Regions from separate parts of the Homo sapiens genome. Here all the other regions are linked to region 1. Evidence: promoter capture Hi-C in 16 types of primary human blood cells and fetal thymus (Javierre and others, 2016). All regions are on one chromosome and are shown on one strand. Each heading gives the region's core, a stretch centred on a gene start or on the middle of the fragment in contact. The rest is flanking DNA. Distances are from core to core; before and after follow the strand shown. Region 1 holds the start of TAF2 (TATA-box binding protein associated factor 2). Region 2 has its middle 11 kb from the start of COL14A1. Region 3 has its middle 12 kb from the start of CCN3. Region 4 has its middle 33 kb from the start of CCN3.

Region 1 (3,485 bases), core at 625-3,124:
AAAATTATATTTGTACTATGTACACAGTGTAAACAAGGACAAAAGAATTCTTTCCTATATTATGTCTGAGGTCTCTATGATTTATTTAAAGTTTGGCTTTTTATATTTAAAATGTCATTTCTTTACTTAGGATTTGATGTTCTAATCATTAATACACTTAAGTTTTCCAGAGAACTAAATAGTAATAGTTTCATAGAAGAGAACTATTTATTCACTTAAATATCATTTCTCAAGTGAGTGAGTTCCCCTCTACTTTTAGCCTTCCACCCAAACTGGAAGCCTCTAGGTGCTATCAATTATTTATATCCATCGTTTACATCCATGAAATTGGCTGAATAATTACTCCTCTGCCTGGCGTAGACATGCGCTTTGGGAAAAAAACGAGTTTATAATCCTATAATGAAGAATACTGGCACAGGCAATGCTCACTCGAAAACTTCAAGTAATTTCTAGTTGGTTTTGGAATGCTTGATAAAGTTCCTTTACAGCTTTATTTTCCTGATTTGTTTTGGTTTAGATCAAAGTTCAAATTAATTTTAACTTAGCTAATGAACTCATCACCAGGACAGTTGGAGGGGGTAGGCCGAGGTTAAATGGTCCACGTTTCAAAAATGTTAATGGCTAATCCATAATTAAAGAAGGTTTAACTGTTACTGAAGTTTACAAGTTTTATTGTCATGAACATGAAATACAAACACGATGGCTTCGAAATGTCTTTCAATAAATGTTTCTGCATTTATATGGATTATATGATATATATACACAGTCTATATATCTCTATGTAGTCTATTTATTTATTTTGAGAGGGAGTCTCGCTTTGTCTCCCAGACTGGAGTGCAATGGCATGATCTCAGCTCACTGCAAACTCGGCTTCCCGAGTTCAGGTGATTCTGGTGCCTCACCCTCCCGAGTGGCTGGGAATACAGGCGCACGCCACGACGCAGGGCTAATTTTTGTATTTTTACTAGAGACGGGCTTTCACCATGTTGGCCAGGCTGGTCTTGAACTGCTGACCTCAAGTGATATGACTGCCTCAGTTTCCCTAAGTGCTAGGATTACAGGCGTGAGCCACCACGCCTGGCCTGTAGTCTATATTTTATTCTTTTTTTTTTTTTCTGAGACAGTCTCAGCTCTGTCGCCCAGGCTGGAGTGCAGTGGAACGATCTCAGCTCGCTGCAACTTCCGTCTCCCAGGTTCAAGCAATTCTCCTGCCCCAGCCTCCCAAGTAGCTGGGATTACAGGCGTGCACCACCACGCCCAGCTAATTTTGTGTAATTTTTAGTAGAGACGGGGTTTCACCATGTTGGTCAGGCTGGTCTCGAACTCCTGACCTCAAATGATCGGCCCGCCTCGGCCTCCCAAAGTGTTGGGATTACAGGAGTGAGCCACTGCGCCCGGCCTTGTAATCTATATTTTAAAATAAATACTAAGGCAGCAGTGCCTAGTGAGAGCTGTGGAGTGCTGCAGTTTTGACATTTAGACTACCTGCAGTCTAATCACATATTTTACAGCTTAAATCACCGGACCCAGTGTGTCTGTTCACACAGCAAGCCAGAGGCACGCACCTCCTGATTTCGGGAGACTTCCCACCACCCCACCCCGCCCAGTTACTAGCACCCTGCCCCAGCCTATTTATACCTGGCTCTTCGCAAACTTTGTCCTCCATTCTTCTCAATATGCTTGTACTAGAAAACTACCTTCCCTCCTTTTCTTCCTGCTGTTCTCGCTTCATCCATTAAATAGTTTTTTCCCTATCCTAAATTTTAACAATTCTTTACGATAAGACACATGCGAAGATCGCAAGCCCTGCCCATTGACAAGACTTCCTGGTTCTACCCCCGCCGCCGTTCCACTTCCGCTGACGTCGGAGGTCAGAGGTTACAGACAAGATGTCGGCGGATGGTAGCTTCGAGCCCTTGCGGAGAGGAGCATCTCTGTGACAGAAGCTTGTCGACGGCGGCTTCTAGGAGCTAGTCGAAGGAGCGAGGTTGAGGCGGGCAGCGACCCGTCAGGTCGCTCACCTGGGCACCGGCCAGCTGCGAGACGTGACTTGGGGACCGCAGGGGAGTGGAGAGTGTGAGGTGCCAAAGACTAGTAATGCCCCGTATCCCCCTAGGAAGCCGGGAAGCCAAGCTCCGCGGGACCGCTTCATGCCGCTGACTGGTGTAGAGCCCGCCAGAATGAACAGGAAGAAAGGAGACAAGGGCTTTGAAAGCCCAAGGCCATATAAATTATAAGTATTTTTTCATTTCCCTTCCTTCCTTTTGGTTTTGTTGCCATTAATTATATTTTGCGATTGCTTGAAATTGACTTGGTGGGCCTGGGAAACCTAGTGGGAAACTAGAATTTACTCACTGTGATGGAAATGGTGTTTGTAAGGTAAAAATGTTTTGAATGACAGGTTATTCAGCAAATTTAATTCCCGTTGCAAGTTACTAAAGTTTTTGTCTAAGTACTAGATTGTATTTCTGTCAAATCTGTTTTCGTGACTGTTGCTAGATTTTAAAAAATTATCCCAATTGGTAGAGTGTTTTTTTTTTTTTAATTTTTTAATTTTTAAGACGGAGTCTCTCAGTCGCCCAGGCTGGAGTGCAACGGCGCGATCTCGGCTCACTGCAGCCTCCACCTGCCGGGTTCAAGCTTTTCTCCTGGCTCAGCCTCCTGAGTAGCCGGGATTACAGGCGTGTGCCACGATGCCCGGCTAACTTTTGTATTTTTAGTAGAGACTCGGTTTCACTCTGTTGGCCAGGCTGGTCTCGAACTCTTGACCTCGTGATCCGCTTGCCGTGGCCTCCCAAAGTGCTGGGATTACAGGCGTGAGCCACCGCACCAGGCCCCAATTCGTAGTTTTAAAATGAAATATTGACATGTAATTTTGAATTACTTAGAACATAGTCCTAATTTATACTTGGATAGAATTATACTTTGATTTAATAATAAAAATTATTTTTTCCTTATTTTCTTTTTATATTTATTAATATACAACCCATCAGGTCGTCTGCATCAACAACATAAATTTCCAGAGAAAATCTGTTGTGGTAAGTTTATTCTCAACAATTATAAATAGTAACAAGTCCACTATAAAGAGTAACAATCCACCCCTCACAGTACTTAGAAAGTTTGTAGTCTTCCAGATAATTGTGTTTCAAGAATAGGTAAGAATTAAAATTAGGGTCTGTATGATTACAAGTTCCATGGTCCTTCTATTAATACCTATTGCCTCCCAAATTCTCCCTTTCCTTTTTTTTCAATTTCCTAATTAAAATTTTATTCCTCTTTATCTGGTGTATAATATGAAAGCCTGTATAGCCAAGCATTTTATAATTGTGCATGAAACAAGTATAAGCCCATAGCGACATTTCTTCTATGAAAAAAATTAAGATTAATACACTCACTGACTTGGCTTCTAAGAGGCCATTTTTGCTTCTTGACTGACTTGGTTTAGGTGATGTTGCTTTGTAATGAAGTTTTAGATAGAGTATTTG
Region 2 (3,523 bases), core at 841-3,340, 280 kb before region 1:
AAAGTAAAAATCTGAGATATAAAAAGAAAGGAGAGTAAACGCAGAGTGGGAGATTGAAAAAGGAATTGGAAGCTGAACATAAGCCCCTGCTTTTTAGGGTGACCTTCACTGTAGCCCTTTGTTAAGAAGCCCCAGGGTCAGTGTCTTTATTCCTTCCTCTTGGGCTGGCAGCTTCCTCAAAGTGTGCACTTCCTGTCCCTTGCCTCAAGGACAAAGTCTGGCTGCCAGAGTTCTGATTGAACGAGTTGGCTTGAGGACTTCAAAATCAGCACTCCTTATGCATATGGCCTCTTAATCCTCTATTGTCAGTAGCACGCCTGTTCTCTTCACTGCATGGGTTCACTCTCAGGCTCAAAACTCCACGTTTTTCCATCTCCAAACAATAAACCTGTTTTGTACCAATATACAGGAGTGTAGCATTAAGGAGAGGGACTAGAAATTTGCCCTCTTAAACATCTTCCACCCAATCCTTCTTATTTTAGCACCAACTCTTTTTATCCCATGGCTCTGGGCTGAATATTTCTGTCCTCCCAAAATTCATAGGTTGAAGCCCAAACCCCCAATAAGATGGTATTTGGAAGTAGTGCCTGTGGGAAGTAATGAGGCCATGAGGGTCATGAGGTCATGAGGGTCGAGCGCCCCTGATGAGACTCATGCCCTTACCAGAAGAGTAGACCAGCTAAGAAGCATCTCTAGGGGGTCTATAAAGTGGTACTATTACACTCTTTATTTGCAGAAGAGGGAACTAGGGTGGAGAGAGGAGATTACCAAGATTACTATGGAGTCTGTAAATGGAAGTGAGAATTCAAATGTCACCAAAGCTAATATCCTTAACACTATGCTGATCTATTTTCCCATTCACATTCTTTTAATCAACTTAATTTCATGTTGCCTATTTTTTCTCTTTTAAGGAAAATTACTTGACTATTCTGAAGAAGCCACAATAATAACACACACCCCCAAAAAACAGTAAAAACTGATGACAAGGATGAAGCATTGTTACCTGTTACCTGTTGCCTATTGGTCAAGCCAATATGTTGCTAAAGGAAAAGAAAGAAGTGGTGATTGCATTGTACATCGAGCCTAAAGCTACGTCTCAGATTATTTCCTGCTATTCAGGCTGTTGCTTCCATATACAGCATAGTCCATAGATTCACCAAGGCTAGCCTCAGGCCTCTGGTGAGACTTCCTCCAAGAACCTACACCCCAGAAAAAAATTTTGGATAACATATAACCACCAAGATATATCCACTGAGACTACAAAGAAATTTAAAATATTAATAGGAGCAAAACTTTAAACCAAAGGAAAGACATCCTAAGGCAGCATTTCAAGAATCAGCCTTGGGAAGATTGAAGAGGGCCAGAAAGTCCTCTCTGAGGACATTTTAGATTTTCCAGAGAAATGAGAAGCACACAGAGCTAGAAATAAAGAGAAAACCACAGAGATCTCTTCTTTTAGAGAATTGAGAGAGCAGAGAGACAGAGAACGCATGAGATAGAAAATCTCATATGGGTCTAGGTTTTGGAAAATTCTGTTCATTATGCTGTGGTGAAGTGTTCTGCGAAATTTGTTATTTGTTTTGTTTTCAGCTGTTATTCATGTAAGTTGTGGTTCAAGTTAGTATCTCTTCTGATCTGTGCCCTTTGACGTGTTAATTAATTGATGAAACTTTTGTTCTCAAACTTTTTACTATTTCAATCCAAAACCTTCAGATTTGTCTGAAAATTCACCATGGGCCACTAGACTGAGAATTTCTCTACCCTGTAATAGCCTCAGTACAGAAGCTTAGAGGAAACCAAGCTGAGCACTGAAATCAGTTGGCAGTGCCCTGCTCCCTCTGTGACTGTATTCACTTAAAGTTGTCCAGATTATGTTCTCAGGATCAATGACCATTTTATCTGTGTCCCTAGCACCTGGCTTAGCATATATTATCAATCCAAAACATGTTCTCTGAATGAATGAACAAAAGCAAGAATGAATGAGCAAACCACCATATTCCAGCAGAGCACCATGATGGTTTCGAGCTTGTGTTCGTCTCCAGGCTTTGCCCTCATGAGTTGGGTGACATTAACTAAGTTATTCAAGATATGCCTTCTCATTAACTTATGCCACAGATATTACTGCTGGGCTCTGAGTATGCATGGGGTGAGCAAAACAAGTCCGTTGGCCTTGTGGAGTCTAGAGTCCAGCTACACAAACACACACTGACAAAACATGAAGTGCTCTGATGGTAGCGGGCTGAGGGGCAAGAGTGCAGGTATTATGCAACTTATTCAGGTAGAATGATCAAGAAGTACATAGGTGAGGAGGTGACCTTTAGGCTGACAAAAAGAGAGACAGCCAGCCTTGAGAAGATATGAAACAAAAGCATTCTGAAAAGAAAGAAAAGCTTTTATTAAGTCCTTGGGTTTTCAACCAAACAATTGAAAAAAAGAACAAGAAAACAAAGTCATCGGGCAAGAGAGAGCTTGCATAGGCCCAAATTATTTTGAATGAGCAGAGTTTGGTGAAATCAGAGGAGAGACTTAAGACCAGGTGGAGTGGCTCAGAGCCTTTGTAATCCCAAGACTTTGGGAGGATCACTTGAGCCCAGGAGTTGGGAACCAGCCTGGGAATAAGACCTTATCTCTACAAAATAATAATAATAATAATAATAATAATAATAATTAAAAATTAGCCAGGCATGATGACACGTGCCTATAGTCCTAGGTACTCTGGAGGCTGAGATGGGAGGATCGCTTGAGCCTGGGAGGCACAGGTTGCAGTGAGCCCAGATCACGCCACCACAGTCCAGCCTGGGTGACAGAGCAAGACCCTGTCTCTAAATAAATAAATAAATAAATAAATAAATAAATAAATAAAGATGGGTGATGTGAGACACAAGAGGTGAACAAGGATCAGACCTTGGACAACCTTGTATGCCAAGGTAAGTATTTTGACTATATCTTGGCAATGGAAAGTTTTAAGTAAATGAGGGAAATGAGCAACCCAGAGTGTCTTATTTAGCTGACCAGGAGCAGGGGCAGACATGGGTATTTTATCAGAATCTTCTCAGTGATTCTAGCACACAGCCAAGGTTGAGATCAACAGTCTGTATATTCCTGCAGGAGCAAACCCACTTTACTTACATCCTTCACCTGCTCTGATCCTCCCAGTGGTGGCTCCTTTAAACAGAATAAGGTGTAAATATATTAGCTTAGTAATCAAGTTCCTCCGTGTCTGCCTTAGCCTAACTTTCCTATCTTATGTCCACTCAACCTCCTGGACAAACTTTATAATGTAGATTAAGGATGTGAGTTCTGAAGTCAGAGCCAGACATGTTACTTTATCCACATTGTAGCATGGTAGTTATAGTTACCTCTTATCGTGTTTAGGAGATTTAATTTTATAATATCTGGAAGGCTCTTCACCTATTACTTAGTAAGCACTTCCTAAAAGTTTGCTCTTGTATTATTCCCTGACACCCAAATAGAATTTTCCTAATTCTGCCCTTTTTCTGATGTTAAACCATATGAACACTTT
Region 3 (3,257 bases), core at 644-3,143, 400 kb after region 1:
AGGGGAGATCTCTGAAACCCCTAACTTTCTGTGTGCTTCTGGAATTGTCCAGGTGTGTATTTAGTAGGTACAAGAGATTCTCCTTCCCCATGGTTGTTGCAGAGAGACCTACATAATTATCTGACCTTCACATGAGAAATTGGCATCTGAGGAGGCTTCAGCTGAGGAGCTGGCTTACAGGGAGGGGCCAGAAATGCTTCAGACTCAGCTCTAGGGATCTTCTCTGGAATTTGGGAGGCACCAACCATGGGGCTCAGTTCTAAGGAGTCCAATCCTATGAGCATAAAGTGGTAAGCAGAAAAGGAAAGGCAAACAAACAAACAAACAAACAAATCTAGATAATTTAGTCCGGGGAATCAGGGTTTAAAGAAAAACTCATACAACCCACCAGACTATAAGCTTTAGGAGGGCAAGGACTGTAGTTGCCTTGTTCACTGCTTTATTCCCAGTTCCAGCAAATGACTTGGAGTATGGTAGATGATCACTACGTTTTTGTTGACTTGATCAATTACTTAATTAATCCAGAAAAGAAAGACCACTACCTTAATTTCAGGGGCCAGTGAAAAGCTCAGGACCATATTCCTAACAGTTCTTGGTCACAAAATTGTTGGCCAAAATCAACTGTTTTCCTTGGCAAAGATCTGCATATGGCCCCCATGCATCCTGTCGGGGAAGTTCCTCAGGTGGTGACCAATATCCAGGCACAAATCCTTTACAGCTTATTAGCTGGTCATTCATTCATTCATTCTTTCAAGTTTCTTGTGCAACAATTACTTGTTTCTCCAAATGGAGTACATGAAACCCAGAATATAGGCAATAAGGCAGAGTAAATATACACATTTTGGATTCAGAATGTGAGGATTCATATTCTGGCTTTACCACATAATAGGTTTATGATGCCATGCAAGCTATTTTTCTTTCTAAAGCTTCATTTTCCTCATCTGTAATTTTGAGATAAAATAGTACTGACCTCAAAGGACTGTTATAAGAATTAAAGGAAATAAAGTAATCTACGTAAAGCACTTTGCATAGTGTCTAGAACCTAATAAGCTTGATAAATGTCAGTTTTTTCCTCTTCCTCCACTTCCTCCTTTTTCATTTTTTCCCTAAATTTCATATATTCTAAAATAAACATTAGATTTTTTTTTTCATTTCTGAAAGTGATATGAGTGTTCCAATTGATGATGTGTCCTGAGCCAATTGACAGAATTTTAAAATTTCTTTTTGATATGTACATTAATAGTATACCTTACAATTGATGGCACCTAAATTGAGATAGAATTTGGAATCTTTTTTATTATTACTGCTAATTTGACTACATGAAATATGCAAGAAGATGCAAGAGGTCTCAGTGTAAACATGGTTCATTTTTCTGGAGCATCAATTTTACTTGAAGATTAAGGAGAAGTCAAAAAGTACTTGCATTTTTAGGAGAAAATGTGAGAAGCTATAGAAATTTTGGCCTGAAATGTTGGGTTTTTGCTGCTAGATGGTTAGATAATAAGTGTTCAGTCTGTTCAGCTGTTTGGAATACTGTGCTGAACAACCTTGAGAATCACTGTGTAAAACAGCCGTGAGAAAACCAGACAAGGTCCTTGCTCTCATGGAGCTTAGGGTTTCGTGGGAAACACACATACAAACAAGTAACAGAGATGGTGTTTCAGCTGCTATGATAGTAATTGTTACAAAGAGCAGTTGGGCACAAAAGAGGTTGGGTCAGGCTCATTGTAGTCAAAAGAGTGCTGGTGAAGAAGGCTTCTTAGAGAAGGTGAACTTAGAGTGGATTCTTGAACCATGAAATGGAATTTAGGGAGATAACATGGTACACTTAACAGGATCCTTATGGTCTTTATTCTCTTTTCTGGGGGCTATGATTTTCTACAAATTATTGGGGAAGATTCTCACTGCTCAACTTTCAGAGGAGCTAGAATGCCCACTTACTAGCATCTCCTGTATCAAAGTCCTCCCAGGATCTTCTAAGTGGCCTTGCTTCAGCAGGACAAACTTGGGTCAGCTTGGAGCATACTGACCCATATTTAACCCAAGCTAAGAACTTTATAACTTCTTCCAAACTTCTGATTCTATGCTACAAGCAGAGTCTGGTTCTCAGATTTTGCTAATAAAATGTAAGTCCAAGCCACATTTTCTGCTTGGATTATAAAATATTTGTTGCCAATTTCCTTCCAGTAGGACCTGTGGGCTGTTCATTCTGTGAAACCTTGTCATTTGAATGGAATTGTATACTGGGCTGAAATTCAGACCATTTTTTTTGTCCTAAGGAGAAAGACACACATTCTTTAGGAAGACTGGTACAACATTGCCATCTTTACCCTTTGCACCTCCTGATTATCCCCAGAACAGCTGGCTTAATGTAACAGTAATTCACGGTCCTCAGCTGGAAGGCTGCAGATAATCCTTCATTATTCAGAGTTCAGCAAGTGCCAGCGGTGTTATTGAAGTAGTAATTGAATTTTGTGAACCCTCTGTGGTCCAGACAGCATAAGAATGCCTGCAAGAACTGTGCAGTGTGGTTAAGATGAATACATTTCCAACAATATTGGATTGTCAAACTAAGCCCTATAGCCCATAGCCAAAAGGACATACTGTTTTGATGATTTGACTTGTGATGTTGAACATTTTGGAGTGAAACCCATTTGGAAGGATGACAACATGTACCTACAAGGAAGACATTGTGAGAGAAATCTAGTACTGCCCAGAAATCTCCACCAAAGCTTCACTGATAATCTCATCAAGTACAGATATGTATGTAACAAATTAGCTCTTTGTATAGTTAAAGATGTTCTTACCTCATTGTTGAATTGAATCTTTGTGTGGAAAAAGAAAAGAAAAATCCCCAAATAATTTTCAATGAAATGTGAGTTATCACTACACCAGCAATTAAGTGCTTTCAAAATGTGACATTCATAGAATGATCTCAACAGTCTCAATACTTTGCAATGCTGTTACTAAAAGAGAACATTTATAGTTTGGGAAAATAGCACAAAAATGAAACTGTTGGAATTGTTTTGGTTGCTGAAAATATACTTGGCCTCAGTGTCTGTGGCACTGTGTAAAGGAAAGAGCTTTGGCTCTGAGCTCAGACAGACCCTGAGTTTGAATCCTAGCTCCTTCATTTACTGTGTCCTTAATAGGTCATTAACTTCTTTGAGTTTCTTCATCTTTCCATGTAAAAATAAGGTCAATAATGTCTACCTTTGAACATTAAATGTGTAGAATAAGGGGCAATGCTTGGCTCT
Region 4 (3,358 bases), core at 766-3,265, 380 kb after region 1:
TTGATGGATGGGTTTTAGGGGGTCTTTAAATTCCCCCAAATTATATACTCACCTATATGTTATGGGTTTGCGCATTTTAAAGGTAATTTCTTCCATTTTCTCAAAGCAACTATAATCTAAAGAGGACATGACAGGCTGATACAGGGCAAGAAGAGAATGGAGCCAAGGGCAGAATGATAACAGGTTATTCACAGCTGGGCACTATGGCTCACACCTGTAATCCCAGCACTTTGGGAGGTCGAGGTGGGCAGATCACCTGAGGTTCAGGAGTTTGAGACCAGCCTGGCCAACATGGCGAAACCATGGTTTTTTTTTTGTAAAATGTTGTAAAAATACAAAAATTAGCCAGGCATGGTAGTGCATGCCTGTAGTCCCAGATACTTGGGAGGCTGAGGCAGAAGAATTGCGTGAACCTGGGAGGTGGAGGTTGCAGTGAGCCAAGATCTTGCCACTGCACTCCAGCCCGGGTGACAGAGCGAGACTGTCTAGAAAAAAAAAAAAAAAAAGAAAGAAAGAAAGAAAAAAAGGCTTATTTACATTTAAGACACGATGGAAAAGCAAGACTGAATGGAAAGGGGCACAGAGATACTGGGACATTAGGATAGGGTGATGTGAAATTACTTGTTCCAGTAGAAATTTGTGGGAAGGAGGAAGTAGTCAATATGCTAAAATTCTGTAGGAGGTTCAAACAGAAAAGGGGCTTAAAGTTCGCATGCTCCACCACTGCACTCCCCAGACACTGCTGTCTCTTTAAACTAAAAGGATGATGAGCATAGCCAATTCTCTTGGCCAATTTACCAAGGGCCACTCTCTTCACTTCTTCCCTACAGGCAGAGTCTCCTGCTGGGATAGAGTCTTAAAATGCTTTTGTGGTTTTCCTTGTTAGTAGAGATGGCCATGCGATTTAAATCTGATCAAGGGGAACTACAGAAAGACCGCTAGGGAACTTTTTCTCACAGATGAAAAGGAAGAGGGCCGGGGGCCGGGTGTGGTGGCTCACGCCTGTAATCCCAGCACTTTGGTAGGCCAAGGCAGGCAGATCACAAGGTCAGGAGATGGAGACCATCCTGGCCAACATGGTGAAACCCTGTCTTTACTAAAATACAAAAAAATTAGCCAGGCATGGTGTCGCGTGCCTGTAGTCCCAGCTATTCGGGAGGCTGAGGCAGGGGAATCACTTGAACCCGGGAAGCAGAGGTTGCAGTGAGCTGAGATCATGCCACTGCACTCCCGCCTGGTGGCAGAGCAAGACTCTGTCTGAAAAAAAAAGAGAAAAGAAAAGAAAGAGAACAATGATTAAGAAGAGCCTTCTTCCTTGTCTCCTGTTCCTCCTGTTCCTCCTGTCTAAGTAGTTGTGTGAGGATGTGATCCCTGGAGATGCTCTTAAAGACATGAGGACACCATCTGAGGATGAGGGAATCAAAGAAAGGAATGAACTTACATATCTGAAGATATTATTGTGCATTAAACAAATGCTGGAGGCCACGTATCTCCTAGCTTATTATGCGAGTCAATAGAATCCAATTTGTTTGGGGAAATTTTTAGTTGAGTAGTCTGTTTCTTGCAGCCATAAGTAAGATACAACAACAAAGTAGAGAAGGGAGCATAGACTATTCTTTCAAGAAGACTTAGTGTGACTGGAAAGCAAGAAATGTGATGTAGTTTGGGTATTTGTCCCTGCCCAAATCTCATGTTAAATTGTAATCCCCAGTACTGGAGTTGGGCCCTGGTAGGAGGTGTTTGGGTCATGGGGGTAGATCCCTCACAGCTTGGTGCTGTTTTTGTGGTTCTGAGCTAGTTCTTGCAAGATCTGGTCATTTAAAAGTATGTGGCAATTTCCCCCACCCAACCCTACTTGTTCCTCTTTGGCCTCATGACATGCCTGCTTCCTGCTCACCTTCTGCCATTATACTGAAAGTTCCCTGAGGCCTCCTCAGAAGCTGAGTGATGTCAGTGTAGAGTCTGCATAACCATGAGCCAACCAAACCTCTTTTCTTTATGAATTACCCAGTGTCAGGGTTTTCTGTTTTGTTTTGATTTGTTTGTTTGTTTTTGTGACACAGTCCCACTCTATCACCCAGGCTGGAGTGCAGTGGCACCATCTCGGCTCACTGCAACCTCCACCTCCAGGTGCAAGCAATTCTCCTGCCTCAGCTTCCTGAGTAGGTGGGACTACAAGTGTGCATCACCATGTCCGGCTAAATTTTTTTTTTTGTATTTTTAGTAAAGATGGGGCTTTGCCGTGTTGGCCAGGCTGATCTCAAACTGACTTCAAGTGATCCACCCGCCTCAATCTCCCAAAGTGCTGGAATTACAGCTGTGAGCCACTGTGCCTGGCCTCCACTGATTTATTTATAGTGTTTTTTGGTACATATCTTTGTATAATTTTCTTAGTGGTTGCTCTGGATATTATAATATATATATGTGACTTATTGCAGTCAATGTATCAATACTTTATTAATTCAAGTAAAGCATGGAAACCTTACTTCCATTTCGGTTCCTTTTGCCTTTTCCACTTTTAAATATCATTGTCTTGAGTATCAGGAGGTATTATAAGTTTTGTTTCAATGATGAAATATTATTTATAGAACTCGTGAGGAGAGGAATAGATCATTGTATGTATTTATATTTCTGTCCCTCTTCTTCCCCTATTAACTGGCAGAAGTGCTAATTTATATGAATGAATTAGCTTATAGTTATGCTTATGTTAAAAATACACTCATAAAGATTTATTGGAATATGTTCCCAGTAACTCTATCCAGGATCAAAAATATTTCTGTTGAGTGGAGTTGGGGTTTTCAGTGTCCTTACCTATAAAATAAAAAGGGGTGGAACTGATATCCATTCTAACTTCTAATCATGTAGTCATTGGGCATATTTCTTCTGTGAAACAGAAATCATAGCTTTGGGGAGAAATTTATAGTAATCTTATAATACTTCAAGCTGTGAGTTCCTCCAAATTTTGACTAAGGGTTTGCTAGTTTCATTGTTCTTTATTTGGGGTAAAGTTATTCTAATGGGGAAATTTTTCCCAACATCATTATTCTCTAGATGAAAGACAGGATGATTTAAAAGTTAAAATAAAACTGAGAGCCAGTCAGCACCACTAATCCTTACTTCCATACCTCTCTTCTCTTTTCATGGCTATTTTCTCCCTTTTGCTACCTGATAGTGGGAGTGTATGAGAAGAAACTGATCTGTCATTCATTCCAAATCTTTTCAATCCAATGGGAAAATTCTGATAACTAGAGCTTTAATAGTTACTTGGTCATTCTTACCTTCTTTGGGATAACTACAATTTCAAATGAAACCCTAAATTCATACAAAGTGTCTCCTTTCCAGTTTTATTTTATAGTTA

What was found. Contacts are between HindIII fragments. The CHiCAGO score rates a contact against its expected background, and 5 or more counts as called.
Region 2: a contact is called between a fragment that was not itself captured here and the fragment with the promoter of TAF2 in region 1, in 1 of 17 cell types (monocytes). The highest score is 5.5, in monocytes.
Region 3: a fragment that was not itself captured here is called in contact with the fragment with the promoter of TAF2 in region 1 in 1 of 17 cell types (neutrophils); the score reaches 6.3 in neutrophils.
Region 4: a contact is called between a fragment that was not itself captured here and the fragment with the promoter of TAF2 in region 1, in 1 of 17 cell types (neutrophils). The highest score is 8.0, in neutrophils.

The regions. Positions count from the first base shown.
Region 1 is chr8:119,831,230-119,834,714 of GRCh38, reverse strand. TAF2 (TATA-box binding protein associated factor 2) reads left to right here and starts at 1,874. Exons shown (of 26, transcript NM_003184.4): 1 at 1,874-2,233; 2 at 2,984-3,038. The coding sequence starts at 2,151. It overlaps DSCC1 (DNA replication and sister chromatid cohesion 1), which reads left to right. Exons shown (of 9, transcript NM_024094.3): 9 at 1-739. LOC105375728 (a long non-coding RNA gene) reads right to left here and starts at 1,836. Exons shown (of 4, transcript XR_928590.3): 1 at 1,639-1,836. RefSeq lists enhancers at 1,753-2,112, 2,173-2,222. The HindIII fragment of the contact is 3,868 bases long and covers 1-1,948 here.
Region 2 is chr8:120,112,401-120,115,923 of GRCh38, reverse strand. No RefSeq gene overlaps it. Among named protein-coding and RNA genes, the nearest start is that of COL14A1, 11 kb to the left of the region's middle. The HindIII fragment of the contact is 605 bases long and covers 1,788-2,392 here.
Region 3 is chr8:119,427,031-119,430,287 of GRCh38, reverse strand. No RefSeq gene overlaps it. Among named protein-coding and RNA genes, the nearest start is that of CCN3, 12 kb to the right of the region's middle. The HindIII fragment of the contact is 1,682 bases long and covers 1,053-2,734 here.
Region 4 is chr8:119,447,416-119,450,773 of GRCh38, reverse strand. No RefSeq gene overlaps it. Among named protein-coding and RNA genes, the nearest start is that of CCN3, 33 kb to the right of the region's middle. The HindIII fragment of the contact is 8,788 bases long and covers 1-3,358 here.